Regions from separate parts of the Homo sapiens genome. Here all the other regions are linked to region 1. The links are contacts of gene promoters, found by promoter capture Hi-C in blood cells and fetal thymus (Javierre and others, 2016). All regions are on one chromosome and are shown on one strand. Each heading gives the region's core, a stretch centred on a gene start or on the middle of the fragment in contact. The rest is flanking DNA. Distances are from core to core; before and after follow the strand shown.

Region 1 (4,121 bases), core at 555-3,054:
TTTTGGGAATCGCCTGGATGGTGGTGTCGGATCAGCCCAGTTGGCTTTTCAAGTTGGAACTGCTAATACAAGGGATTTGCGTCCATCCTGGCGGCTGGGGTCGTGGGCCAGGCCAGCGGGCTCTCTTAAGGGTAATAACACGTTTGCTGGCAAGATGCATTTCTACGGAAACGTCTTTACATCAGCTCTGGGGAATATGACCATGGTCGAATAATGCATCTGAAGGAACTGGACAGTGAGAAGACGAAGCTTCACGTAACAATGTTCAGCTTGGTGATTTTTAAAGCAACGCTTGAACAAAGAGTTACTGGCTTGAACCAACCGTCTTTTTCACTCAGAGTGTGACCTATTTCCCTACAATGAGCAGAAAATAAAACTGTTTGAGAATTCAGAGCCAGCACCAGGAGAAATGAACCATTCCCTCGACTGCTTCTCACCTTCATAAGCGAAAGATTATTCCTTGCAAGATCACCAAATGTAAACGAGAAAAGGTGGTCTGATTTTGCCACGAGTGAAAACTTTGGGAAGAAAATGCTTATTAAGCTGTTTCCTTGGTTCCCCTCACCCCTCATACTTTAAGTCAGTGCCTTGTCTCTCACGCACAAAAAGCGTCTGGTACTTCGGTGGCAAGGAGTGCAGTGACAGATGGAGGTATCCTGTGTACCATTATAGAAGGTTTTCCTCTAACCCAAGTTAGACTTGGAGAGCTCAGGGATCTTGCTATCTCTCAACATACAGAACATTTCTCCTTAGAACTGCAATCCGGTTTAGAATGTCATCGTTGCTGCTGCCTCCCTTCCTTTCAGGAGCACATTCGCCTGCGTGCGCACTCACACACACGTTCAAAAAGAGTCCATTCGATTCTGGCAGTAGGCTGAAAACGATCCATATTGACGCGAATAACATCCCAACTGTAAATATGGATTCGTCTACTCGAGGCTGTGTCTCATTTCACCATAGAGGAAAATTATGTCATTTAAAACAGTGATAAAACGCGAAGAGTTTCGATCTTCTGTAAATGGCTCTCACTTTGAATTGTGGGGGAAAAAAATCACTAATTGGGAATAGCCAGAGAAGGGGGAATTTGTTGAGCGCCCAAGGCCAATCTCAAAATATTTTATTTCATGCCAATGTGGGAGAGGGAAGGGAGTGTGGCTTCGCTGTTTGCCGCTTTTGCATTTTCCACATCTGGCCTACAGACCTAATTCTAACTTGCGATCTCGCTTGATGAAATTCGATCTTCGTGGTTTAAATACCTTTCAATTTGGGACGATTTAACCATTGCAGCAGTTCAAAAAACAAACCCTGAGCATTATCTGTAAAACCAATATGGAAAAAAGAAAGAAAACATGCTGCAAACACACAAATCGCAACCATTGTCTTTAACACTCGCATACACACACATACACATAAACACACGGAAAGATGGGGGAGGGGAGCGAGTGGAGAGAGAGAGACACACGGATATAGACCGACGAGAGTCAATGCGAGTCAAGTTAACGCTTTCTCCGCCCCGATGCACAAGTACCCCCCTCCCGTGTTAATTAATTCCAAACAAAGCAAGCCAATCAAGAAATGCATTATTATTTTCAAGCAGAGAGAGACGAGTGCCATGTATTTTTTAATTGATTTATTTATTTGGAGGACATTAATTCTCGGTCTGAGGCTGATTTTCAAACCGTTTGCAAAGCGCGGCTCCATTGTTCGCCAGGCGCGCAGACCCCGCCCCCTGCTTTGTGTGCGGCGCGCGGATTGGCCGACGCGCGCGGGGGCCGCGTCAGCGCCCGCGAGCCCATTCATCTGTGCACTTGGGCGTTGGACCCCGCATCTTATTAGCAACCAGGGAGATTTCTCCATTTTCCTCTTGTCTACAGTGCGGCTACAAATCTGGGATTTTTTTATTACTTCTTTTTTTTTCGAACTACACTTGGGCTCCTTTTTTTGTGCTCGACTTTTCCACCCTTTTTCCCTCCCTCCTGTGCTGCTGCTTTTTGATCTCTTCGACTAAAATTTTTTTATCCGGAGTGTATTTAATCGGTTCTGTTCTGTCCTCTCCACCACCCCCACCCCCCTCCCTCCGGTGTGTGTGCCGCTGCCGCTGTTGCCGCCGCCGCTGCTGCTGCTGCTCGCCCCGTCGTTACACCAACCCGAGGCTCTTTGTTTCCCCTCTTGGATCTGTTGAGTTTCTTTGTTGAAGAAGCCAGCATGGGTGCCCAGTTCTCCAAGACCGCAGCGAAGGGAGAAGCCGCCGCGGAGAGGCCTGGGGAGGCGGCTGTGGCCTCGTCGCCTTCCAAAGCGAACGGACAGGTAAATTCTACCTGTGGTTGTGGTCATTTATTTCGTGTCTTTCTCTCCTTCCCTCCTGGTGGCTCCCAAGGCTCATTCGTGGAGAGGAGTGTGGCTGGATTCTAGTCTGAAAGTTGAATGGAAATGGATAGCCTAAATTGTGGATTTTTCATAGCCGGGGTCCCCCCACACCAAAGGAGTGGTTCCTTAGAATCCTGGAGAATTCTTGAGTAGACGGGAGGAAAGGAGTGATAAATCGTCTAAAATGGCGTGGTTTGGAGATTGGCAGAACGTGACTAGCTAGGTGCCCTCCTTCCCCCGCCCCCAGCCAGGTTTCATTTGTGTTTGGGGGCACAATGGTGTTTGGGTGTCTCTCGGGTTTGTTGTCGAAGCTGGATTGTCTTCGAGATTTCTGAACTGGTGGTGTGATTGTGTGTGGCGGGGGGGGGAGTCGGGAAAGGGGGGCGCAATGGGGATGGTGGTGGAGAAAGGCGAGGAGGGAAAGGCTGTCTTATTGTATGCCGCGGCGGCGTGCCCTGGGTTCTTGGAAAGGTGGCTGGCTGGGGCCAGACAGAGGGCTTCGGTACCTTTTGATGAGGCTTTCCCACTGTCCTAAATCTTTATTCGTAGCTGTCTGTGGAATTACACATCCATTTGATTTTTAAATGGTATCTGTGGGGTGGGAACACTCGGTGGGTCCTTTAAGAACCTTTCCAGATGGTCAAAAAGAGGCGGTTCGTGCCTTTCGGTCGGGATTGTTCTTGTGCGTGGCGCCTCGACCACCCGCGAGGGGCCGCCCGGCGCTGCCCGGACCCAGGCAGATAGCCACGATTGGGTGGACCCGAGAGGTCGGCCATGGGTGGCTGCTTCGCAAACACTGGGCACCCACCACGCCTCTTTTCCTAGAGAAGAGATCGTGTCGCTTCGCCTGCTCTAACCTACTGGGGAAAGCGAGGTCTGCCAAGAGGCTTTAAACCCGTTAAAAATGCAAAATGAGCCGCCGAGGCGCGCCCAGGCTTCGCAGAATCGCAGGGGAAGGTGGGCGTGGAAGCAGAGGCGAGACCTCAGAAATAATGGGTTTCCCCCTGCCTTGTTGGTTTCAGCCCGACCGGCAGGCCAGGAAACCACCTGAGCTTTGTTTGCGGACTGTTGGGCTGCGCGATCCGGGCTCGGGGGCGCCTCGGCCTGCGGGCAGGGCCCGGCTGGGCAGGGCGGGGTGGCCCGGCGACTCCGCCCCTCCTCGCCTGCCTGCGCCCAACGCGGCGCGGTGGAGGCACAGCGCCCCCTGCCGGTGCCAAAGGCCTGGGTGGGCGCAGGAGCTCGGAGGGCCCCGCGCGGGCGCTCCTGGCTCGAGTGCTGTGATCCCCCTGGGAATTCCTGGTATTTTGAAGAGGCCTTTATGTATTTAGGGCGAAAGAGGGATGTGAAACGTAGGCGCGAACCACCAGCTCTGGCTCTGTGCCTTCTTCCAAAGGGCGTTTGCTGTGTCAACTAGTCCCTGGCACCTTTTTTCCCCCAAGCCCCCGATAAAGCGAGGGCTGGCATGGTTAGCCTTTGCTTGCTACGTTTCGGACTTCGTCTTTAGGGCACTTGCTGAATGGCTGGGAGGCCATTGCCGTACTTGGGGGCTACAGTTGTGTTTTCGGGGGGTCTCCAGGCAGCGGTGCCCATTTCCTCGTTCGTGGGGCTCTCTTCTGGGCATCCACCCGCGCCTCCCTCCCCACAACGGCGGGGGTGGGGTCTCGATGGCCACAGGGGCCTTAGGGGGAAGCGGGGCACTCCCGGTCCAGGGCTGGGGGCGGGAATGGCGGCGCCCCGGCCGCTTCAGTGACGCT
Region 2 (4,121 bases), core at 446-2,945, 1.7 Mb before region 1:
ACTTTTACAAAATGTGACTTTTATTGATTTTGAATGCCAGATTTATCAAACACAACTTTATGAGTGAAGAGTGAGTAGGATGGATCGAGAGCAGCATTTTCAATAGAACTCTCTGCAAGAAGTTCCACTATATTCAGTGGCGCAATGCCTGTTTCTGCACAATGCTTGTGCCACTGAATATAGTAGCTGCTAGCTATGTGGCTGCTGAGGACTTGAAAAGTGGCTAATGTGACTGAAGAATTAAAATTTTAATTTTATTTAATTTTAAGTAATTTAAATTTAAGTAGTCATATGTGGCTGGTGGTCATCGTACAGTGCAAGAAACTAAAACATTCAGTCATCTGATCTTTATAATGCCTGCTCACTGGTTAGATATGAATTTATTATTATTCTGTGACACTGAGCTGCTGTTGTAACCTGCTGGAAATACAAACCTGAACAAGTCACGTGCGTCCTTACCTTTATTATATCATCAAGTTCTGAAAGAGTTAGACGAGGTGTTGTCAGAGAGTCCGCAGATGTGCTCAGAGACATGTTCACCACTTCCATTTGTTCCCTCACTCTTTCCTGTTGTTTCTGCGGGAAGGAAGAGTAAGGGAGAGTGAAGTGAATATGTCTTTAGGGAAAGCGTTGGGGAGAGCAGTAAATGTCAACTTGCTCTCTTTGGACTCAGACAAATCTGGGTTCATATCCCAGCTCCATCCTTGCTGTGTGCCTTTGGGGAATGCTACCTGTTTGATGCTGCTTTCTCATTTATAATACAGAGATAACAACAGTAAGAATCTTGGGAGATTAGACATACGGAGGATTATTATAACACCGTCATTTCAAAGAGAGCTAGCGCCTTAGAGAGGGCATTTGTCTCTTTTTCCCAGAATATAAAAGAGGACTATGGAGAAAGGATTGAACACAGGCTCTATATTTGCAGTGATTGGAATATGAATTAATTCAAAAAGTATTTATCATGTGCCAGCCTTGGGCCTGACACAAACAGCCCATTTGGACAGGAACAGAGAATATACAAAAATAATCTTATTATGTCCTTTTAAAAATTAAAAATGGCCCTACTATTAAAGCATCAAATTTTAATCTTGCTTCATACCTCTCAGAGCTCTTTATTGTAAATGCTCAGATGTTTTGAGAAGGGAAAGTAAATACTAATACATGTCTTGATGAGTACTTTAATTTCTACCATCACTTTTAGGTTCTAGAGGCAGGGACATTGTGATTCTGAAGAAATATTATGGGGCTTCCAATGAGTTTAGAGTTTGAAAGAAACATAGAAAGAAACTTTAGGAGGGAAAAGTAAAAGACTCATTTTACAATTTGAGTGAAAAATGAGTTGAAGTTACCTTAGAAATAGTAACAAGTCAGAGTTGAAATATACATTATAGTGTAATCTAGAATATCATAGAAATAATTATAGAAGCCTAGATAGAGAAGGAAATACTTTAAAGCTTTTTAAGTTCATCTTAATGTCCTTTCTTACTCCCTGCAGTCTTTTCTGGCTTAAAGAAAAGGAAGAATGGAACCCATCTTCTCCAGATATGTTGTTATGGGGTAGGTGTAGGTCTAGAGACAGAAAAGAATCACATTTGAACATCCTCTTAATGCAAGAACATTTTTAAAGAAACAATTTTCCCTGAATATCCATCAAGCCTAATACAGTGTGACTATCTGAGATCAATTATTCTTATCTTTACAAAGACTGGGAGTTATACAGCAAAAGCAATACTGTAAAATATGTGTATTAAAATATGTAAAAGAAGGGAGTTGAAAAAAGGTTGGTATTATTTACCTCTCACAGAACTGTTTTCCTTTTACAGTGTTCTTTACCCCTTCTGTAAGTTCTCTCTGGGTGACTGCGGGAGAACACTGCTAACACCCTGAAGTCAGAGACAAACTTCAAAGCTGTGTGCTAATAGCACTGTATATAAGCTTATTTGCAGTAGATGAAAAACAATATGCTTCAAGTTAATGAGTTTCTCCCACTTACCGTATATAGCATTAGACAGAAATGAATAAAATTAGCTTTGAAACAAATAAAGATATTTCCACAGAAAAGTGGTCAACTTGAACAAAGTAAAATGTTGAAAACTGATAATTATGAAAATGACACAATTGTCACTATTCAGCATGCTTCACTGTGCATATTACATATGCAAAAAAATAGAAAAAGTTCCACGGTCAACAACAACAACAGCAACAGCAACAGCAACAAAAACAACAAAAAACAGTCCTGGGAAGGTAAAGCTTGGGTATATAGTAATCCCTAAACAGTGCTTTTGAAGGAGTATTTTACTTACTTTTAAACTATACAATCTCATGTTCATCTGATAAGTTTTTAATCATTCTGTTACCCTTTGGAGATAGAGGTAAGATGACAAAATAATGTAATTGCTAGTTGTATGGCTACTGTTGGTACATGTCAAAATGATTAAGCTCTGTGGGTACTTTTTTGGTTTTGTATGATAACTGAAATTTGGGGATTATTCTTTTCTAGCCCATGCTGTAGGTGTAATAGTGAAATGTAAAATTAAAACAATTAAATTTGGGCCGGGTGTGGTGGCACATGCCTGTAATCCCAGCTACTTGGGAGGCTGAGGCAACAGAATTGCTTGAACCCAGGAGGTGGAGGTTGTGGTGAGCTAAGATTGTGCCACTGTACTCCAGCCTGGGTGACAGAGTAAGACTGTGTCTCAAAACAACAACAACAAACCCACTTAAGTTTGTTTTCTAAAACACAGAGTCAAATTCCAGTAAGGTCAGATCCATTCAAATCTATTTGTCGTAGGAAAGACTATAAATAAAACATTGGATTTTAAATTTTGTTGGAAGGAATTAAAATTTCATGATATTTTGCAAAAGTATGCAAAAGAATGGTGAAAGTAGTGTTTAGTAATTTAGAAGTCCAAGTTAATATGAAATAAGAGTATTTGTGATCATGAAGAACCAGTGTACATAAATCAAATCTGTATTACTTGACAGTGCTCCAAGCATTTGTCCATCCATCTGTTCATCAATAGATGTAACAAATGCAAGTTATTGTGTTTGGTGCTAGGAAGATACAATTTGTGCAAGGCTGGAGTGCTGCCCTTGGATGCTCACGGTCTAGTGGGGTTAGACTAGATGCATACCATCACACACACACACACACACACACACACACACACACACACACACACACACACACAGAGTTATGCATTCAGCAATCAAGAGTGACTCCACCAGGCGCGGTGGCTCACGCCTGTAATCCCAGCACTTTGGGAGGCCGAGGCAGGCAGATCACAAGGTCAGGAGATGGAGACCATCCTGGTGAAACCCCATCTCTACTAAAAATACAAAAAATTAGCCGGGCGTGGTGGCGGGTGCCTGTAGTCCCAGCTACTCAGGAGGCTGAGACAGGAGAATGGCACGAACCCGGGAGGCAGAGCTTGCAGTGAGCTGAGATCGCGCCACTGCACTCCAGCCTGGGCAACAGAGCGAGACTCCGTCTCAAAAAAAAAAAAAAAAGGAGTGACTCCTAGACAGGAACATAGAAGAATATATGCTTAGTGTGATGAAGCCTGGTGATCATTCCAGTGATACAACCAATGGCTGCACCAGTAGAGAGGAAGGAAGGACTCCTTCTGGCAGCTAGTGTTCTTTTTTTTTTTTTTTTTGAGGTGGAGTTTCACTCTTGTCACTCAGGCTAGAGTGCAATGGCACAATCTTAGCTCACTGCAACCGCTGCCTCCCGGACTCAAGCAATTCTCCTGTCTCAGCCTCCCAAGTAGCTGGTATTACAGGTGCCCACCACCATGCCCAGCTAATTTTTGTATTTTTAGTAGAGACAGGGTTTCACCATGTTGACTGGGCTGATCTTGAACTCCTGACCTCAGGTGATCCACCTGCCTTGGCCTCCCAAAGTGCAGGGATTACAGGCGTGAGCCACCGAGCCAGCATTCTTAACCCAGGGTTAAGGTGGACTACCTGAACTTGCCTGTCAATCTTATACATGCGAACAAGTGCACATTTTTCTCATGGCAGGGATATATATGTGTGTGTATGTGCATGTGTGTCTGTGTGTGTGTCTGTGTGCCTGCATATTCCATAGTTTTCACTGAATTCTCAAAAGGATA
Region 3 (4,121 bases), core at 1,155-3,654, 1.7 Mb before region 1:
GTGTGATTCTGAGCAGGTGACTTAAATTATGTCGCATTTCTTCCTCTGTAAATAAGGATGAAAATGGTATTCCATAGGATTTTTGGGGCTCTTTTGAGGCTTAAATCATTGTCTGTAAAGTTTTTACAACAGTGCCTGACATACCACCCAGTAAGTACTTAATAAATGTTATTATTTTTATCATCATGATCATGGTCTAAATACAATACAATGTGGAAAGCTTGCCAGCTGATCTGGTGGATTTGGTGAGTAGCATGTCCAACACGGGGAGTTTAAAGTGTGAGGTGGGAGAAGGTTTTTAGGGAGGAAAGACAGGTAGGGCCCAGAGCAGGCCAATATTCATGGACCTAATTGTTAAGACAAGGCAGGTGGGCGTGTTTGAGCTGTTTTTTTACACAGTAGTGTAAGAGGTAGAGTAAGTAAAACATGTTTTATGTTTTAGACCAGTGTTTCGCGAATTTGCATGTAACATGGATCCTTTTAAAAGGAAAAGCATTTTCATGTAATACCCCTTCCAGTGTTAGCTTAAATTATCTTTAAATATTTCAAACATGAAGCTAGGTAGAAACTCCTTATGTCTATGGTTTTTACATGTCTTGAAAACCAAAATAAATTTTCAAATACAACATAAATAAAACTATGAAACTAATCAATTTCAGATTCACATTAATTCAATAATTGATGTTGTCTTATAACCAAATGTCCACTTGCAAAATGATGTGGTAGAGACTGCCTGTGTTCAGCATGCAAATCCAGCCATGTGCCATGTGACGACTCATGTCTCTCACCAATTTTCATTTTGGAATCTTTAGTTTTACAGTTTGCCTTGATGTCATGCCACTTGACCTCCAATTGTCTGTAATGTGTCATTGACAGACTGTCACCTCTGTTATTTTCTCCCAGCACTGAGGGAGATCTTCTCTTATTATAACGTGACACAGCAGAAAGTCCAGAACATGTTTCAATGAATGTTTTCCTTAAAGTTATTATTAAAATTAAACATAAAATTAGGAAAATATTCACTGAGAACTCCTGAACCTTCATTTCCAAGGACAACCAAGGTTCTTAGGTCACGGTTTGAGAAATACTTCCCTAGTATGAGAGTGTGGTATTGAAGGTCAAGGTAGAGCGGTAGTTCACAAAGCAGTGAGAGTCCTGGTGCATGAGAATCCGACGGGAAGTCAAAATACAGGTCCTGGGCCTCAGCCCTGGATATTCTTTTTCAGTGGGTGGTGAAGGGGAGTTGGGGAGGGCTCAGGAATCCAAAGTTTTCCTGGAGACAGTTGGACACAGATTTTAAAACCACCACTTGACTCAATGATCTCTAAAGTGCAAAAAGACCTAGCAGGTTCTTGGTTTGGACTAATTATTACCTTTGTTTAAAACAGATATCCATACAAATCAGTTGCATATTTAGAAAAGCTCTTTTGGAGAGGTTCAAGTTCACAAATACATTGAAAGCACAGATTAGGCGAAGGTTAACTCAGGCAACTTAAGAGCTTGGCTGTTCAAGCAGAAACCCTCCTCTTAACCCCAGGGTCAAACAAATCAAAAGCAGCAAAGACCACCGCAATTTGGAAGACATAGCTCTTCTGGCTCAGTTTCCTCATCTGCAAGATGACAAAATACAACCTTCTCTAAGGTGGCTGTGAAGATGACAGATGAAGAATGTAAAGCAACAAGGACATAAGTGATAATTAATCAGTGGCACTATTTAGCTCAGAGCTGTAATTTCTAGCTAAGGAAACCGAGACTCAGGGAAATGAGCCAACGTGTCCCAGGAACACAATCGGCAGTGGCAGAAGTTGGACAATGACCACCATGACTCATACTGTCACCTGTTAATTCTTATTGAGCATTTACTCAGTGCCAGGTCCCACACTCAAAACTTTGCAGTATTATCTCATAACAGTTTTATGAGACAGGTAACTTTATTTTCTCCATTCTGTACAAGTGGAAATTGCCACTTGGAGAGGTCAAAGAACTTGCCCGGGTGGGTCACAAAGTGGTGGAGCTGAGATTCACACTCACCCAGGCTAATGCTCAAATCTCTTCTTTTCAACACTCTACTTTCACTTTCCAAACCAGTGCTCTTGTCTGGAGCCTTCCACTCCAGCAGCAGATCTGACCCAGCCTTACTGGGTAATGGCAGAGCTCATGAGCATCCTATGTGGGCTGAGGCATTTATCATCTGTAATTCCTTGTCAGAGGTGGGCGTGCAGTCCTGCTGATGGTTTGGGATGACAGAACCCTTCTCTGCACCCCTGTGTGATTTTACAGGACTGTGCCCTTAGGGTCCAGGTGATTTCACTTCTGCGAGCTTTGCATTTGGTCAGCAGGGCTCTATCTAAGGCCATTAACTCTCCCCGTGGGGGCCATTGAACACCCATTAGCAATACTGCTTGGTCATTATCAAACTAAATTGAATTTAACCTCAGACACTGAGGAGAAAAAACTCCATCCTGGCTGATTAACAACCGCCACAGACCTCCAGTGAGCCAGAAAATGAGTAAATCAGGTGCCTCCTATTCCTGTGTCTCCAAGTAAGGAAATATAGGATAAGTGTGTCACAAATTTCAATCAACCCAATGTAATCGATCATCTCTGTCAGTCCCTCCTAATAGATGAAATTCATGTGGACCCTAAGCTCGCTTTCCCTCTTATGGCAATAAATAAATAAATTCAAAAAAATCCACAATCCTTTAGTGAAATAATTATCCACATTTTGCATATTTAATAATCATAATAACAATGCCTTCCAAGTGCAAAGATTTTTCTCTGTATCACAGATACTGTGGCTTTTTTTTTTTTGAGTTTCAGACCCACTTTTTGAGAGATAGAGGGTGTTTTCTTTGGAAGTGAGATTGCTTATAATTTAAAGTTTACATTTTAAGCCCCAGGTTGAGTTTGTGAGCCCATCTGTGCTGTTGAGGGCCTGCAGATGAGTGACTGGGTGCTTGACTATTTCCGCTTGGCTCTTCCTTCCCTGTCTCTAGGGCACTACATATCGTTTAGCTGCCTAAACACAATGGTGAGGCCAATGCTAATGGCATTTCTGTTAAAAACAAGAAAACCTGTCTGAGAGACTCTTTGAGCAAAAGCCATTTTATCTTACAACACTGCGAGCAGCTGGCAGGTGGAGGGAATGGGAAATATCTTACCGAGTCATTCAGTGGAAAGCCTCTCGTGCTCTGTGGAGAAGGCCTTTCTTACATGAGCAAAGCCCAGAGCAGTTTAGAAAAAGAGAGAAAAGAGTGTCATGTGCTTTTCAAAAGAAGACATTTATGTGGCCAACAAACATATGAAAAAAAGCTCATCATCACTGGTCATTAGAGAAATGCAAATCAAAACCACAATGAGATACCATCTCACACCAGTTAGAATGGCAATCATTAAAAAGTCAGGTAACAACAGATGCTGGAGAGGATGTGGAGAAATAGGAATGCTTTTACACTGTTGGTGGAAGTGTAAATTAATTCAACCATTGTGGAAGACAGTGTGGTGATTCCTCAAGGATCTAGAACCAGAATTACCATTTGACCCAGCAATCCCATTACTGGGTATATACCCAAAGGATTATAAATCATTCTACTATAAAGACACATGCACACATATGTTTATTGCAGCACTATTCACAATAGCAAAGACTTGGAACCAACCCAAATGCCCATCAATGATAGACTGGATAAAGAAAATGTGGCACATATACACCATGGAATACTATGCAGTCATAAAAAAGGATGAGTTTATGTCCTTTGCAGGGACATGGATGAAGCTGGAAACCGTCATTCTTAACAAACTAACACAGGAACAGAAAACCAAACACCACATGTTCTCACTCATAAGTGGGAGTTGAACAATGAGAACACATGGGCACAGGGAGGGGAACATCACATACCGGGGCCTGTCAGTGGGTGGGGGGCAAGGGGAGGGATAGCATTAGGAGAAATACCTAATGTGGATGACGGGTTGATGGGTGCAGCAAACCACCATGGCACGTGTATACCTATGTAAGAAACCTGCACGTTCTGCACATGTATCCCAGAACTTAAAATATAATTGAAAAAAAAAAAGGAAAAAAAGAAAAGAGTGTCATATGTAAATACCAGCCAGAGATCCAG
Region 4 (4,121 bases), core at 829-3,328, 1.6 Mb before region 1:
TTAGAACCTGTTATGTCACAGGACCTTGGAGGGAATCACATGATGTTTGTTCCTCTCACCACTAGGTCAGAGATAAAGCCATGATTGCTCCCATTCTGACAATGTCATTGTAAAAAGAGTGGCTTAGTCATTTCTTTCAATAGACTCTAGCAGGAGGGACTTCTTCCCTCTTTAATTTATCTCAGTCTTGCATAATATTGACTGCCTAACAGCAGCTGATGTGCTTGACAGTCTCCACTGCTTTATATTTTAATAAATCAGATAACAAACAACCTTTAATTGGTCAAATTATCAGAGATGTACGTTATTAGTTCAAGTGTATCCATGGGATTTTTCCCCCCAAATGTCACTGGGATTAAAATAACAGGAAACCGGAGATGGAAGCATTAGAAAGGAGTAGACTTTGGCAGCTGCAGAAGCCTACACTGTGACAGAGGACATCCTGGTTGTAATGCTTATTTAAGAAGATGGGGGAAGGGAAAACAAATATCAGGACTAAATAAACACTACAAAGAGATAGCAACATTAGTATTTTGTCACTTAATTCTCTGTCCCTAGAAAAATGGCAACTTCTAGGGTTAAAGATCAATAAAAACATTTGCATTTGCATCTTAATGTGTGAATAAAATATCACTTTCATGTACACACCTAAGAGGCCATTTAAAATAAAAATTATCTAATAGGGACAATTATGCAAATGTTGAGTGCATTTAAATAAGTATTCTTATAGTTTATGCAAAAATACTCTTGTAGTTTTGGAAAACCTCTTTTTGCCAGATGGGAACTTGAAGAATTTTTCTGCTGTATCACACAGCTCACGAAGGAAAACATGCTATTTGAGCATAAGTTCTTATAAATGCCCTCTATGACTTCCACTGAAGCCACTTCTGGTAAATATTTCAACACCCATTTTCACTTAAGTTGTCAGTCCATTCATTAAAAATGGGAAATATGTAGCAAGTACTTTTCTGCTGGAAGACTTCTCAATCTTTCGCACAAGGCTCTATCATGCTTCAATGAAGAACAGTCTATTGGAGAATTCATTTCAGTTAAGGAAAAAAATAGTCTCCTGGGGGCTTAAACACAGACTTGCAAAGACCACAAGGGCAAAGCTTTCATTTTCATCAGCTATTGGGTTCAAACTTAAATTTCTTTTTTAAAAACTAATTTTGATCTATAGACCTGGTTATTTTAGGTTCTAAAATAGGCTAGGCAACAACTGTTTCATTCTCCTGGTTTATGTGGAACGAAGCCAAACATATGGCAAACTATACGATTACAGAGGAATTTGGATGTATGGGTTCCTCCTCTATGTATCATTTTCAATCCCACCGCCATTGGTCTACAGCAGGCAACCAGCTGCTGAGGGTGGTGGGGCAGGAGCCTCCGGGTGCACGTGCACACTCATGCATATGCCTTGGTGGACCCTTAAAATCAGAAGTAGTTTATATGAGTTGTTTCACAGGAAAAGCTGAAGGGTGAACAAAAGCACTTGATTAGCAGTTTGCTCCTATGTGGCTCAAACATCCGAAAAATATTTTATCTTCACCCAAGATGCAAATGCCCAGTGAAGTACGTGAAGTGTTATAGGTGCCCCAACTTACCACACAGTATCCTGAGCCGTCCAAACACTCGTTGGAATTGCCATTACAGTCGCAGGGCACACATTCTCCCGACAGGGTGTGAAAGAATCCAGCATTGCATTTCTGCAACAGACACACCAAACCATTTTGATTATTGAAAAGATTGATTTTGGTCAATATTTTCTGAGAAGAAATCAGAGAAAGTGATTATTAAACAATCTAAACATTTCTAAAATGAATATACTAAATGATACATACAAAACATACTAAAATAAACTATTTATACTACCATTCAGTGATAGATGATGTATATATAATCTTCTTTGTTACATAACTTTTTCCCTCCTTTCACTTTTCAGGAGAACAGAAATGCCTTTAACACTGTCTTATCATTGCAAGGAAGAATAAGAAGGTATTACGTAACAGTAAGGGAGAAAAAAATGCTAATGTTTTCTTCCAGTATAAGCAAAACAAAACAAGACCACAATTAAGTATTAGTCAGGGTGAGGTCATGCTCCCTATAAATAAAGAAAGACTTCTCGTTTCAGCAATCACTAGCTATAGGAGAGCAACTTAGCTATAGGATAGCAACTGAGTCTTTCATGAACTTCAGTTCTTAAAAGCATCTGTTTCTTCAGATGCTAACATGTTAAAGGGAGGGATAAGGAAGTTAATGAGTTCTTACACTTGTCAAGTCCTGTGTGGGTGCTGTTCATATATGTATTTCATTTGTCTTCAGAATGCTGCGAGGAACACATGACTTTCCCTTATCCTAGTGATGAGCTCATGAGATTGAGAGGTGCTAAGTGGCTTTTGGGGATGTTAAACTATCCTGTCATGCACCAATTGACCTGCACAATCATCAGCTGCCCTCCCCAGATATCATTAGTGTGCCATTTGAGACACATTATGAGATTGTTCCTGGTTTATGTGATTAGGCTGTGGATATGCATTTGATATTTCTTTGGAATGTCTCAGTGATGAAGGGCAGAAATGGCATTATGGGCCTGGAAATCCGCTCCCCGCCCATCAGACAAGTTTATGTCTAAAGAATTCCAGACAGATAAGAATCTGCTTTGTTTCCACAGACTTACAGAGTCCAAGATTTCACATCATACACCCCCATTGACCCATTGTAGTTTGCACTTCCCTGGCGACCAGGAAATTTTCATTATATCTGGCTGAAGTCCCTCTGATTGCTATGCAAACCTATTTCCCCTTGCTTTTTACTCTGTAAAGAAAGAGTCACTAAACACCATTCACAGTATTTAAAAAAAAACACACACATCAGTTCACACTTTAAAACTAAAATTTAATAAACCCCATTTGGAGGAAGTTTAATAAAGAATAACAACATTTGTCTATGAAAAAAAGGCAAGGAAATTCCACATTTCCAAGTTAGAGAAATAAGGCTAAGAGAAGATCAATTTATAATTTTTTAATGGAGAGTTGTGGTTGATGGTAAGCTTCTTAGTTTCCACTAGAAAACAAGAGAGGGAAGACACTAAGATTGCAGTAGGAAGCATTTAATTTAGACCATTTAATTTCACATTTTTAGTCTTTGCCGCAAAGTAAAACATACATGTTTTCATTGTGATGCAGTACACAGATTGGTATCTATATCTATATTGGTGTAGATATGGAGATAGATATAGATATCCATATATATGTGTCTCAGAGAAAAGATTCACAAAGTAATAATGTACCTAAAACTTCTCTATTGTATTTAAGAGTATATCCTGGTCATGACCCATAAAATTGATCTGATGACCCATGAATGTGTTGCAGTTTTGCATGACTGCAGGGTTTTCTTTATAAGAGTAGTGGGTAAGAGTAGTGACGGTCTTAATATTAGTTATCTTAGTAGCCTCTTAAATGGTGGTTTCTGAGCTCTCTAAATGACCATATTACAGTCTTCTGGGGAGCTTCTGATTCAGTGAAACCAAAGGATCTGCATTTTAAAAAATAACTTTTGTGTTTTAGAATAACTTTAGATTTACAGAAAAATTGTGAAGGATCTGCATTTTTAAAAAGCTCCCCAAAGACTCTGATATTTGGCCAGGTTTGGAAGCATCTCTCACAATGCCTTGTATATATTAATTGCTCAATGAACTCTTGGTGATTTGGGTGGTTTGGACAAGGACAGCAAACTGGAGACATATATACTATTGGGAGCCCACAGAATATACTGATAATCCATCCACTGCTCTCTCCTAAGGGTGGATTTCATCTCAACTCTTTGTCAACAGTCCAGCAGCCAGTGCCTAGGTTGGACAGCATGCAAGATGAAATCTTTGTGATGTGCCAAGTTTAGGAGGAGAGTTCACTGTGAGAGCCTGTCATTATCCACTTACCACTCCCCAATCTGAGATTATGACCTTGGGTGAAGGATAACTTGGCTCTGATCTCTTATAATGTGGGAGATGGGAAGAAAAGGGAGGTACGAACAGGGCTGTGTTGAGTCATTTGGCCCCCCGCCGAGAGGGCGAGGAGGGCTGGCAGGGAAACCTGGCACACTACGTTCCTGCTGGGCCTTGT
Region 5 (4,121 bases), core at 429-2,928, 1.6 Mb before region 1:
CCAGGAAGAGCCCAGCCCTTTAATAAAAACCTAGAAGTTTGGAGAACCTTACAAATATCTTTGGATATCCAAATATCTTCGGATATCCAAATATCTTCGGATAATACTCATAAAGATGATTACTCTGACCTTACACAGACATCAGCTTCATCTTAAATACAGTATTATTCTCACCATACTGAGGATCCTCCTGACATCAAAGACTAGGGTGAGAATGAGGCGTGAAAGTGCCCACCATTTTGAAAATGGACCATGGAATGGGCAGGGTTAGAACTGTCCTGCCTCCCAAAAACCTTCCTATTTTGCAGACCATGTGGGGCTGCCCCAAACCCCTGAAATACCCCTTTTTCCTTGTCCTCTATTAGGTTCAGGGCATATCTCAGCAGATGCTGTTCATAGCAAAGTCCCTGGATTATATCATAAAGTTCTGTAGTTCTGCTGGGAATTGGCAGATTTTCTCGAGAAACAGGTATTATATATATTTTTTTGCTGTTAGAAGACTAGGGTGATTTCCCTGTGACATTAACAGTAGAAAAATTCTACATATAAAAATGGAGCTGCTGAAACTCAGAATTGTTATAAATCAGGTTGACAAGGTCATGGAGGGGTACAAGTGCCAGAGTGGACCACTTTGGTGCTATCAACGTTTCATTTTCTTCATTAATTTCTCACATTTCAATTGTTTTGGTACATGATAGGGAAGTTTCTTAAGGTCATGTGGAAACCTGACCGATCACTGTGTACAGGAGGAATACCAGACATGATATGGTCTAGGAATTTTAAAAATTAATTCTTAAACTTTTAAAACAAAAATGTTATTGTTCATTTTTGAAATAGATCTTTCTTTCTTCCTTTTAAGATCAAGGATGTTTTGTTTATTTTTATGTGACCACCAGAAAACTCTAGCCGGAAATTCTGAAATTTTAATGCACTTGAATGCTTACTTTCTAAGTATAGGTGCTGAGAGCATGGTTTAAGGGGTTGATAGCATATGGGGCCAAGGCAAAAAATGCTTGAAATGAAAGAAATGGGATGCATGATTTGGTTATAAATTAAATTCAAAATTGAGATAAATATAATGACCAAAGGCGAAGAGAACTTTCAACGTTTTAGCAATTGAATTACTTAGTTCCAGGACACAGATGACTACATAAGTTATAAGGCGAAGGTAAACATGGATATATTCTTGTCTGATCCAGCTCACTTAATGTCTCAACACCCCCGTGACGGCGTCCCTGCTCTGTGATGCAGTAGAGAAAGACAACTGACCTCAGAGCCAGGAAACTTGGTTGTGGTTCCAGTTCTAGAAACCCTGTGTGGGAACTTGGGGAAGTGACTCAACTTCTAGCTCTGGTTTCTTCCTCTTCAATGATGTTAGCAGCATGATGATTTCCAGGCTCTTCACATTCTAACAGTCTAGAACTCTGTGAAACTTCCTGCTGTCTCAACAAGTTTCCACGCTAGGAGACTTTGGGCTTATCATTTAACATTTCCATGCTTTCATAAATTAGATGAATAACCTCCGGACTGCCTGGTTTGTAAGATGGTTGTGAAGATTAAAGGTGGAAATATATAGGAAAACACTTTGTAAATCATGAAAGCTTAATAAGTATCAACACTATTTTCTACCTGAGTCAGTAGTCATTGGAAATTCCAATATTTGGCAGTTGTGAATAACTGCCAATTTAACAGTTGTTCAATATCAACAGCTTTTTAAAAGCTGAGGTCTTCAAGCTACAGGTAGAAGGAGATAAAAGAAGCTTTCCTAATTCATTAGAACATCAGTTCTCCCCAGGTATACTGCAGATATGTTATAAGGCAAATTAAAACAAGCTGCAGTTTGCCTTCATGACACTATGAAATGCTTAGGTTGCTGCTTTTTTAATTCGCATGGAAAACTAAAGTTTTTGATGCTTATTTTCTTGATTTTTATAGACATAATGTTCATCATGGAAGTACTTTTCCCCTTTGGAGATCACTGGAAACAGCTTCTGGACCACAAATGGGGTGAACTACTGTATCGAGAAAGGAGAGAGTAAGACTTGAGAGCTATCTTTTTAGCTCAGGGTGCAGGTAAGAAACTGTGGTTTATGTTTCAGAATAAGATGATATTCATTGCGATGGAATAATTGGTTTAGAAGAATAAAAACTGAATGAACATCTGGTCCTTCCTATGAAGATCAAATGATAGTGGTTATCTGGTCTACCCACTACCATCCTATCCTCTCTCCGAAGCTCCTTTGTTGTTGTCCTCAGTACTCCCAGGTTAATGACCGAGACAAAAGTGGAATTTCCTAATTTCCTTGAAAAGGGCCAAAAATACCGTCAGACAGGGAACAGGAAGCATAAAAATATCTCTCAGGAGAGCACCAATTGTTTAAAGATTTCTAGCTCATGTTTGGAGCTATTACAGGGGTGCTCTGAGCATCAGCTGCTCAATGCAACCAGTGACAAGTACTGGCCCAAGGCAGACGTGTGTACTGCTGGGAAACTGCCTAGGAGGCACTGATTTGAATAAGATTTTGAGTAACATTTTGGAGACTAGTCTTGATGTAGAATATCAGCTTGGGAGGCCCCAGCATAGTGGTTCTCAAATATTTTAGAGCAGAGAATCCCTTTTTTAAAAACCAGTAAAATTTCATGTGAAATTCATCTATAAAACAGATAAAAAAGAGGCTGCTGTGATTGAAGGAGGTAGGGAGCAACCTCCCGCTGCTCCGGAGGACTTGAACCCTCAGGCATTTCCATGGAGCCTCAGTCTGAGAGCCACTGATTTAGTAGGTTTTATGTTGAAAGGTCTCTGCAGAGACTTCTCTCCCATGATTTAATACATTTCTACACACATCAGCAGCAACTTTGACTTCTCCTTCATCCTTACTCTTCAAACATATGACAAACCATCTTGACAGAACCTTGGCGATGATCCCAGCATCTGTTCTCTCCTTTCCAGACCACAGCTAGCATCCAAATCCAGGCCTCCTTAGGCCCTCCTGGATGGTTACCAATGCACGACATGGGTTATCCTGATTCCAGGCTCTCTGCCACCTATTGCCCAATCTAGCCAGGAGACTGTTTCCCGATTAATGTTGACAAATCATGATTCTCACTGTGTTTCTCTTTCTTCTGCTATGAAGTCTTTGATGGATCCCTGTGGTTCAGCCCAACAAACTGAGACTACTTCCCTTTCCAGAAGAAACTCTGTGTCTTTTTATTTACTCATCCTGTCCCCTCAGCTTGTATTCTTTTCCTCAATCTCAAAGATTCAACTCAAATGCCACCTTGCCCATGAAGTCACCTGGGAATGTTCCACCAGGAGTGAATGTTCCTTCTATATCCTTGAAGAGTTTTTGTAACATAAGAAATTAGTTGTATTGCATTATTAGTGTGCTTGTTTCGTCTGTGTTTTACTCATCTTTGTAGGATACTTGGCACTTGCTGAGGTAGTGTGCACCTTTTTGCTAAAAAAGAGAGTGAAGATATTGATACTGATCAATCGAGTGTCCCTGGATACCTAAGAAATACAATGTGGCAGTACAGAGCCTGACACACTATTTTCCATATTTCAAAATATTGAATTAAAAGTTGGCCAGGCATGGTGGCTCATGCCTGTAATTCCAGCACTTTGGGAGGCCGAGACGGTTGGATCACTTGAGGTCAGGAGTTCGAGACCAGCCTGGCCAACATGGTGAAACCCTGTCTCTCCTAAAAATACAAAAATTAGTCAGGCGTACTGGGCACCTGTAGTCCCAGCTACTCCAGAGGCTGAGGCAGGAGAATAGCTTGAACCCAGGAGGCAGAGATTGCAGTGAGCCGAGATCACACCACTGCACTCCAGCCTGGGCGGCAGAGCAAGACTCTGTCTACAAATAAATAAATAAACAAATAAATAAAAGTAATAGTGACATATTTATTAAAAATGTATAATTAAAATGAAGTGCTAAATATGGCTTTTGCTTAAAGTTAAAACAGGGCAATTACACGCACTATCTTATTTTCTCAGAAGATTTCTTTTGTGGTTATAAATTACTTTGCCTTATTAAGAAATGAGTTACTACTTAATACATTTCACTTCGTAGGTGTGATGAACTGAATTGTGTCCCCTCAAAATTCATGTTGAAACC
Region 6 (4,121 bases), core at 1,107-3,606, 1.6 Mb before region 1:
TTATCTGCAGTCTGGGGATCTGTAACTTGACCAAGGTCAAAGAGCTTGAAATTTCAACTTGGGACCATCAGACTGAAAACCTGCAATCTGAAACACTTTGCTGTGCTGCCTTCCTATTATTTCACCAAACATATGAGCACATAAGAAATTTCCTAGGGTCTTAGCATTAATTTTAAGGTTCTCTAAAACTCAAAAAATTACTTTCCTATTTTTTTTGTGGGATGAGAGTTACAAAAAACAGTTGTATATGGCTTGTCTCTTTAGACCTAACAGATACAAATACAGGATGCCCGGATAAATTTGAATTTCAGATGAACAATGAAAACAAATTTTAATATAAATATGTCCTCTGCAGTATTTGGGATGTGATCAAAATTCATTCATTATTTATCTGAAATTCACATTTGAGTGTCCTGCAATTTATCTGCCAATTTTACTCTTAAGTAAAATTAAGCATTTCATTCAGGGACTTTACGTGCTCAAAGCAACAGGTGGAGATAATGCTTCCCTGGGGTTAATTCCAAGCCTGTAGAGAAGCAAAGCCTTCCCATTGCATGAAGTCCCTCCTGGTCTGGCTTCTCCCCAAGTTTCTGGGTATGAAGTTGACCAGAAGCCATGCTCCCTCTTTTTCATGGAGGCTACATTTTATACCACAGTGAGAGGTTGGCATATTCTGACCCTGTCCACTCTCTTTTTTGGGGCAATGTGGGTAGGGCTTACTCTGAAGAAGGACCATGTTCATGCACCTTATTTTTAATCATCAATAATTAATAACTATAATTGTACTAACAATTAACAGAATTCATAGCAATAATCCATGCATCAGTGATGTTAGAAATGGTGTCAATCCACATAACTGTTTTAGTTGTACAGTTGCTGTAACCATAGCTATAGAGTGTGGTGTTTGTTTTGCTAGGTCAATTGCTCCTTCCTTTCCCATGAACTTAGGTGACTTTATTTTCCTCCCTCTTAGCATGTCCCATGCAATGGGCATGCTGTTGTCTGTTTCAGTTCAGGGGTTCTTAAATCACTTGTTCTGGATTCATTCTCCTTTACCAGACCTCTACATTCTGGTTTTGTTTCCAACTTAAAAGCTATTGTAAGGTATTCAAACAGCAGCTCTTTGAATAAACATATTATCAATAGCATATCCTGAGGCTTGATTTTAATGGAAACATCTTGTTTCTGGAATACAATGGCTCGTTTCTACTTAAGATACCCTCTCAGCAGTTGTCTAACAGCTCCTTTCATGACCAGCCACTCTCACTCACCCCCTCACCTTCCCTGCTGCAGAAGACTTCTTGTCTAATATGAGACAAAAAGATCCTGCAGTAGTGTTCCCACTGTCCTAACAGCACAGAGGAGCAGGAAGCCAGTGACAGGGCACACACGTTAAGTGCCGTGGCTTGACAAAATGACTACTGGGACACGCAAGTGGCAGAAGTCACCGATGTGCTGCTGCAGTCCCCGGTGAGAGTCTAGCGGATGAACTCAGAGCACCAACACATGCACTCTCACCCCTTTGAGCAGACACATTCCGAAGCCTCAACTTTCAACTCTCAACATCCAAATGCAACTTACAAAGGAAAACTCTTTATTTCAAGTTTCCGAACTGACCTAGCCCAGGTGAAACTCTCAAGGCACTGGGGAGAGGAAAGAGGCGGAGAGAGAGAGAAGGACGAGTGTGGCACAGCCCGCGGGGGCGCAGGTGCCCCAGCAGGGTGGCAATGGCAGGGACACTGTACCTCGGCCGCAGGCGGCAGGCGTCCCAGAGCCACGCGGGGTTCGCTCGTCTCAGGCGGGTCTTGCCTGCCAACCGCTGAGCTCCCTTCAATGTCAAAAGGAAAAGCGTTGTCGTCCCCGGACGCGGCGCGGGAGCAGGCAGCGCTCCAGAGGAGCCACAGAGGCAGAACCGAGCGCCAGGCTGAGCTCAAAGCCATTTCTCCGCTGACATCCAGTAGTGCTCTTCCAGGGCTCGGGCGCTGTGGGTCTCCGTAGGTCTCCCGCGTGGTGCGGCGGTGCCTCGCTTATTTTCCCTCCTCTCCGTGTGCAGTATCCCGAGGTGGCTGCGCAACCAGCAGCTTAGGAAATAAAGGGAAAGTGCGAGAGTAAGGGAGAGTTCCAGCCTCTCTCTCCCTCTCTCTCTCTCCCCTTCTCCCCCTCTCTCTCCCTCTCCCTCTCCCTCTTTCACTTTTTCTCCTTCCCGCAGAGGTTCTGGCTCAAGAACCTACAGATGGACGGAGCTTACAGTACGGCATCAAAAGGCAGACGGATTGGGGTGAGCCCCGCCAGCGCTAGGCCACCTCCTCTCCCTGGCCGTTCGGGACTGGGGACTGCGCTGTCCTGGCTTCCTTCTCACATTCATTCTCACCACTCCCTTTTTACCTTCTACTCCCAGGCCCTCCCACTCTAAGCTGGCTTTTCAGACACTGAGGTCCGCCTTTCCCTGCGGTCTTCCCTCCCCTCTCAGTTTGGAGCCCCTCCAAGGGCTCCAGAAGAATATTCAGCTTTTGTGACGCTTCCTCACCACTCTTATTTATGTAGTCAAGGTACCGGATGTCTTATCTATATTTACATAGATATTTTATGTGGCCCCCGCTAGTTTGCAGGAAAGTGGGTGGAAAAGGGATTCCAGGGCAGGAACCAAAGGTAGATGATCTCTGAAGGCAGAGGGTCAGGGTGCCCACTTTCTTGAGCAAGGTTTCTCGGGTTTTTTCTGGGGGATAGACTGTTGCACTCTTTGTGCTAATATCTTCTCTTCAGATTCACTGGCCACCCCTCTTCCTCCCTCCAGTCCTCACCCAGAGGGCTTGGGAGAAGAATATCTTTCACTGCAGCGCTGGAAAATGACTTCATTACCCAAATGCATGAACTTTTATTTACAAAGACCATCTTGTTTTCATCCTAAAGAGGTGCTTTGTAAGGGGCCCGGAACAAGGCTTGCAGTGTATGAGCCTGTCAAGTATACTGCCTACAGCCCCGGCCTCTTCCTCTTGGCCTGTAATCTCATGCCTACTACATCTGTCTGAATCATGTAACCTTTCCAAGACTTCAGGGTGAAGTTGGGCTACAGCTATGTCAGGGGTGCCCCTGTGGATGGGATAGTGTCTGCAACAGCTGATAGGTACCTTTGTTTACATTGGCTTCATAACGAGCTCTAAACATTTCCACAAGATCCAACCATGGTTTAAAAATGGTCAGATGAGACAACCATAAAATGACACCCAGGTAAGCTTCCAGGTGAAATAAAGCATTTTTGTATAACCTAATCATAAAATAAATAAATAAAGCCTTTCCATAAAACCTAATCATTAGCTCCATTTCATAGAACAAAAGTCATTTTATCTAAGTGTAAGCAAAACCATTTATTTTGCACCTAACATGTGCCAGATACTTGGCATATGCTATTTGTAAACCTCAGCATTCCTGCAAAGTAGTACCATTATTTTCCTTTTACAGAAGAAGAAAGTGAGGTTCAGAGAGACTAGGACATTTGCCCAAGGTCGCACAGCTGGTGGAAAGCAGAGATGGGGTTTGGATCCAGGCCTCACTGATTCCAAAGCTCTCTTTTACATCTGTATACACGACACTGCAACTTTAAAATAAAGAGTATGAATTCAGAGGTGAAGGAAATGGACACTTTTATTTTTTGAGTGCCTCCCATGTGCAAAAAAATCACATAAATTGTCTCATTTAGGGCTGGGCGTGGTGGCTCATGCCTGTAATCCCAGCACTTTGGGAGGCCAAGGTGGGTGGATCATGAGGTCAGGAGTTCGATACCAGCCTGGCCAACATGGTGAAACCCCGTCTCTACTAAAAATACAAAATTTAGCCAGGCATGGTGGGAGGCGCCTGTAGTCCCAGCTACTCGGGAGGCTGAGGCAGGAGAATTGCTTGAACCCGGGAGGTGGAGGTTGCAGTGAGCAGAGATTTTACCACTGACTCCAGCCTGGGTGACAGAGAAAGACTCCAGCTCAAAAAAAAAAAAAAAAAAAAAAAAAAAAATTGTCTCATTTAATTTCATCTTTATGATAATCTCATGAAGTAGGGATTGTCATACACATTTGGCCATGGGTAAGTGGTAAAATTACTACTATAGCCCAGGTAAATCTGATGGTAAG
Region 7 (4,121 bases), core at 711-3,210, 1.5 Mb before region 1:
CAATCAAACAATTTCTTTGATTCACCTCATAAAAACGTCCCCTCATGTCTCTTTGTCAAAGCTCTGAATTACCTCTGGTTTGGAGCTGCCTGATTCATGAATTGCCATGTGCTCTAATAAACTCTTTAAAATTTTAACATGCCAGAGGTTTTCCTATAACAGGGGCAATTATCTCTAGAGCAATTCCCCAGTGAGGGACAAAGAAATGTGATGCAATAATGTCAGCTGGGGTCAGCCAGAGATGTGGCCAAATTTCTCAAGGAGCTTCCAGTGTCAAGAGCTGCTTCATGGAGGGAGCATGTTGGAGAAGGTGAAGCATGGTGGAGCCACAGACAAGCAGAGGGGGCTGTGCAGGAGAGGTCTGCAACCTCACTGTCCTGCCCCAATACTCAAGGAATAGCTCAGGGAAGAGGGAGGAAAGGGAAAGCATGTGATAAAGACTACACCCCTGGCTAGGGAAAGGGAAAGGAAGTTTTGAATGAGATACAACATGCAATCTAAATGAAACAAAGAGACTAAGAAAACATGGAATAGGGCTCAGGTGTTGTTAGGGAGGATTTGATCTGGGATTATTGGGGACAGTTATTGGAAGAAAATAAAATTTGTATTTATAGCTGAATGAATTGAGACTCTTTAATACCACCTCCCTGATTATAGTCCACTGTTCTTTCTGCCATATGGTGCTTTACCGCTGACGTTCTCTAAATGTCTTCACTCTCATAACCTCATCCTGTTCATAGCATCTTGAATATTTGATCCTACACCTCAATTTTACAAACTCTTGGAATTTGTGTCAAATCTTGCCTCTTCCCAGAAGTCTTCCTTAATAACCCCAGGTCCACATTCCTCCCTGTCTTTCCCCCATTGCCCTCCACCATTTCAGCATTTTCTAGAATCCATCCTTGCTTTTCATTCCAATCTTCCACGCCCTAGTTCAGGATCCCATCCAATCCTCCTTCTGCATGGTTGCCACACACTGCCTGAGGACAACTGGCTGAGGCCCTGCTGCATTTGGCAAGCCACCTGCTCTGAAACAGGGTGGTGTCAACCCAGAGGGGCACCATTTTCTCAATTGCCCAAGGGCTGTCTTAGTTCACCAGGTGTGCATGGGGTCCTGTAGGCTCAGAGGGAGTGTCTTTTCCTAAGTTGCACGAAGGTGACACTGTATTTCCTAACCACCTCGATCCCACCCCAGTCTCTTCTCATTTCAAGTTGTCCTATACATAGCTGACATTAATTTTTTTTTAAACTCAAGCAAATCTCCTTTTCTACGTAAAAGCCACACTCTAGGGCATCATCAATATCATGTGTATTGGGAACTGTCGAAGGGCTAGGATGAAACAGCCTGGATGTGGACTGTGAAGAGAAATAAAAAGCTTCCTAGCACCACGAATCTCAAACCTTCATGTGCACACAAATCACTATTGGATCTCATTAAAATGAAGATTCTGATTCAGAAGGTCTGAGTGAGACCTGAGATTCTGAATTTCTAGCAAGTGCCCAGGTGATGCTGAAGATGTTAGTCCAAGGACAACACTGTAAGTAGCAGTAAGTAACATTTAATTTAATACACTGTGAGTAGCATTTAATTTTCACAAAAATCCCTATAGGGTTATTATTATTATTATTGTTATTATTGCAATTTTTTAGAGACAAGTTCTTGCTCTCTTACCCAGGCTGCAATACAGTGGTATGATCCTGGGCTCAAGCTATCTGCCCTCCTGAGTAATTGGGACTATGAGTGGGCACCACCATGCCACCATGCCTGGCTAATTTTTTTATTTTTAATTTTTTGTAAAGATGGGGTCTCCCCGTGTTGCCCAGGATGGTCTTGAACTCCTGGGTTCAAGCAATTCATCTGCCTTGACCTCTCGAAGTGCTGGGATTATGGGAATAGGGATTTAAATTCATGTCTGCCTGATTGAAGACTCCTTTTTAGCCACTATGGTGTATTCCCTCTAGAAGGACTGGAGAGGAGAGAATGGACTTGAGGGAAGAATTTCATTCAGGAAGTAAAACAAGAAAACTTGGGGATGGGTTGGCCTTGATCTTCTCAGTGGAGTTGGTGAGAAGGTCACTTAGCTCTGGTGGTGGGAATGAAAGGCCTAAGTGATCTGGGGGAATTGGGGCTAGCTGCAGAGGGCCATGTGCTGGAGGAAGAGCAAAAAGGGCTGCCAGTAGAAGGGAGCGCCCAGATAAAGCTGGGAGGATTGAACTTGCCAAAGCACTAAATCAGTGGTTTCCAAACTTCACAGTAGAATCACTTGGGGATCTTTTAAAAGTTCAGGTTATTCCCCAGGCCAATTAAGTCACAATCTCAGGCAAGGACACAAACATCAATAATTTTTGAAGCTACCCAGTAATTCCAAAGTACAGATTATTTTGGGAACCAGTGCTGCAGATGATTAGGTTATAGTGTTAAAGGGGCAAATCTTGCATTATTTTAAATAACCCAAGGAGCATTGAATAATGGTTTTGGCATTTTGCATAGTTCGGAGTTTGGCAAACTTTTTCTGTATTAAGTCAAATGGAAAAAAAAAAAATTAAGCTTTGTGGGCCAAGAGGCAAAATTGAGAGTATCATGTAAGTACTTACATAATAGGAGAAGAAAACAGATTTCCACAAAATTTTTATTGATGAAATTTGAAACTTTATGAATACTGAACTTGGAATTTTATATAATTTTATGTGTTATAAAATGTTAGAATTCTTTTGATTTTTGCAGTCATTTAAAAATGTAAAAATAATTCTCAGCTTTCAGGCCGTACAAAAACAGGCAGTGGCTGGGTTTGGCCCCCACTATGTTATAATTTGCTGACTCCTAGTGTAGTTAGTGATATACCTTGTGATGAATCCAAAGAAGCCATCAAAAATATGCATCTCCATAAAAATAAATCAGCATTCAAATGAGTGCTTGATTGACCTACAACAAAACTGGCCTTTGAAAAAAATCATTGCATTTTCTATGGACAAAGTGCAAAATGAATGACAACACTTTGAGGCAAAGGCTACTTTAACTCATATTTCCATAATAAATAAAAAAATAGCTGGTTGAAAACATGGATGACCTACACAGAGTCTACTATATAGAGTACTGTTTTCTGTAAATAACTCAAAATACTTTCAAAATATCTTTTAAAAGTATAAATAGTATTTTGATTTATTTTGAAACCATTTTGGTGTTTCACCAGATGTCAGTTCTCCTCAAGGCCTCAAATTATTAAAGATTCCTAGCTGTTGAGTACAGCTCCCTTGCGTTTGTAATGTCTACATTTGGATACCAGGATTATAGGTTAAAAAAATGGCAATTTTCTGGAAATGTTGTTTATGTAATCAGGTGGATAATCTGAAATACTTTAGAGAGGCTATAGAAATCCCTCTACTGTCTTTGGGCATTTTACATCCAGAACCTTCTGAATTATTGCATTAATAACTTCAATAGTTTCTGATTAGCAAAAAGCACAGTGAGGAAAACAAAATTAAAGAGAAAAAGGAATTTTAGCACCTGCAGGTCTAAATATTGTATTTGTAATTTATTTACTAATGGATAGTTGTTTTTTTTTTCTCTTATGTATAGAAAATTTCGAATGGAACCAGAGGTTACCAGAAACGTGCCCCATTTGTAGTTTCTCTGCTTTGAGAATTTGCCAGGCGTTGAGGGGAGCCCTCTGCTGTTAGTTTTATTTATTACAGTAAAATTTGAATTACATTTGTTTTATGCCCTTCCTTGAACCTTCTCAGGTTTTTGATGTTTCTGTTATGATTGTACATTTTACATAACAAAGAAAACATAAATTCCACGATGCCAGTTGGCATAGTTAATAATCCATCAATTCTGCCCTTTTTGAACTATATCAGAGCATTGAAAAATCTGGCGGTTTCCAATTTCCATGTTAGAGTAGGGTTTTGACCTCTATTTCACTTTCAAATGGGTCTCCTTGGCAGAATAACTCGGCTTTCTCGATTAATTTTACTGTTCACCCCCTTAACAGTGAATATGGAGGTTTAAACCTGATGCTTTAGAAGGTAATTGTACAGTTTTCGGAGAGTCAGAGGAAACTGACTCTCCCCTGCTCCTTAATTGCCCTTGTTACATTCTCTCATCCACTAACTGTGAATGC

The links. Contacts are between HindIII fragments. The CHiCAGO score rates a contact against its expected background, and 5 or more counts as called.
Region 2: a contact is called between a fragment that was not itself captured here and the fragment with the promoter of MARCKS in region 1, in 1 of 17 cell types (non-activated CD4 T cells). The highest score is 6.3, in non-activated CD4 T cells.
Region 3: a contact is called between a fragment that was not itself captured here and the fragment with the promoter of MARCKS in region 1, in 2 of 17 cell types (non-activated CD4 T cells and naive CD8 T cells). The highest score is 6.8, in non-activated CD4 T cells.
Region 4: a contact is called between a fragment that was not itself captured here and the fragment with the promoter of MARCKS in region 1, in 2 of 17 cell types (non-activated CD4 T cells and naive CD8 T cells). The highest score is 6.3, in non-activated CD4 T cells.
Region 5: a contact is called between a fragment that was not itself captured here and the fragment with the promoter of MARCKS in region 1, in 2 of 17 cell types (naive CD8 T cells and non-activated CD4 T cells). The highest score is 6.9, in naive CD8 T cells.
Region 6: the fragment with the promoter of LAMA4 here is called in contact with the fragment with the promoter of MARCKS in region 1 in 1 of 17 cell types (naive CD4 T cells); the score reaches 7.6 in naive CD4 T cells.
Region 7: a contact is called between a fragment that was not itself captured here and the fragment with the promoter of MARCKS in region 1, in 2 of 17 cell types (total CD4 T cells and total CD8 T cells). The highest score is 5.8, in total CD4 T cells.

Annotation. Positions count from the first base shown.
Region 1 is chr6:113,855,541-113,859,661 of GRCh38, forward strand. MARCKS (myristoylated alanine rich protein kinase C substrate) reads left to right here and starts at 1,805. Exons shown (of 2, transcript NM_002356.7): 1 at 1,805-2,307. The coding sequence starts at 2,206. RefSeq lists enhancers at 560-619, 640-689, 960-1,505, 1,506-2,049, 1,837-1,886 and 1 more and a silencer at 3,352-3,681. The HindIII fragment of the contact is 4,373 bases long and covers 674-4,121 here.
Region 2 is chr6:112,164,701-112,168,821 of GRCh38, forward strand. It overlaps LAMA4 (laminin subunit alpha 4), which reads right to left. Exons shown (of 39, transcript NM_001105206.3): 13 at 460-576. Among named protein-coding and RNA genes, the nearest start is that of LAMA4-AS1, 70 kb to the right of the region's middle. The HindIII fragment of the contact is 481 bases long and covers 1,456-1,936 here.
Region 3 is chr6:112,196,972-112,201,092 of GRCh38, forward strand. All of the region lies in intron 5 of LAMA4 (laminin subunit alpha 4), which reads right to left. Among named protein-coding and RNA genes, the nearest start is that of LAMA4-AS1, 38 kb to the right of the region's middle. RefSeq lists enhancers at 1,752-2,255, 2,256-2,758. The HindIII fragment of the contact is 4,372 bases long and covers 219-4,121 here.
Region 4 is chr6:112,214,764-112,218,884 of GRCh38, forward strand. It overlaps LAMA4 (laminin subunit alpha 4), which reads right to left. Exons shown (of 39, transcript NM_001105206.3): 3 at 1,605-1,706. Among named protein-coding and RNA genes, the nearest start is that of LAMA4-AS1, 20 kb to the right of the region's middle. RefSeq lists an enhancer at 1-359. The HindIII fragment of the contact is 1,937 bases long and covers 1,111-3,047 here.
Region 5 is chr6:112,234,844-112,238,964 of GRCh38, forward strand. All of the region lies in intron 2 of LAMA4 (laminin subunit alpha 4), which reads right to left. It overlaps LAMA4-AS1 (LAMA4 antisense RNA 1), which reads left to right and starts at 1,753. Exons shown (of 3, transcript NR_121193.1): 1 at 1,753-1,795; 2 at 1,936-2,073. The HindIII fragment of the contact is 159 bases long and covers 1,600-1,758 here.
Region 6 is chr6:112,252,211-112,256,331 of GRCh38, forward strand. LAMA4 (laminin subunit alpha 4) reads right to left here and starts at 2,357. Exons shown (of 39, transcript NM_001105206.3): 1 at 2,249-2,357; 2 at 1,746-2,081. The coding sequence starts at 1,940. All of the region lies in intron 2 of LAMA4-AS1 (LAMA4 antisense RNA 1), which reads left to right. The HindIII fragment of the contact is 4,256 bases long and covers 1-3,231 here.
Region 7 is chr6:112,308,486-112,312,606 of GRCh38, forward strand. No RefSeq gene overlaps it. Among named protein-coding and RNA genes, the nearest start is that of RFPL4B, 37 kb to the right of the region's middle. The HindIII fragment of the contact is 1,172 bases long and covers 1,375-2,546 here.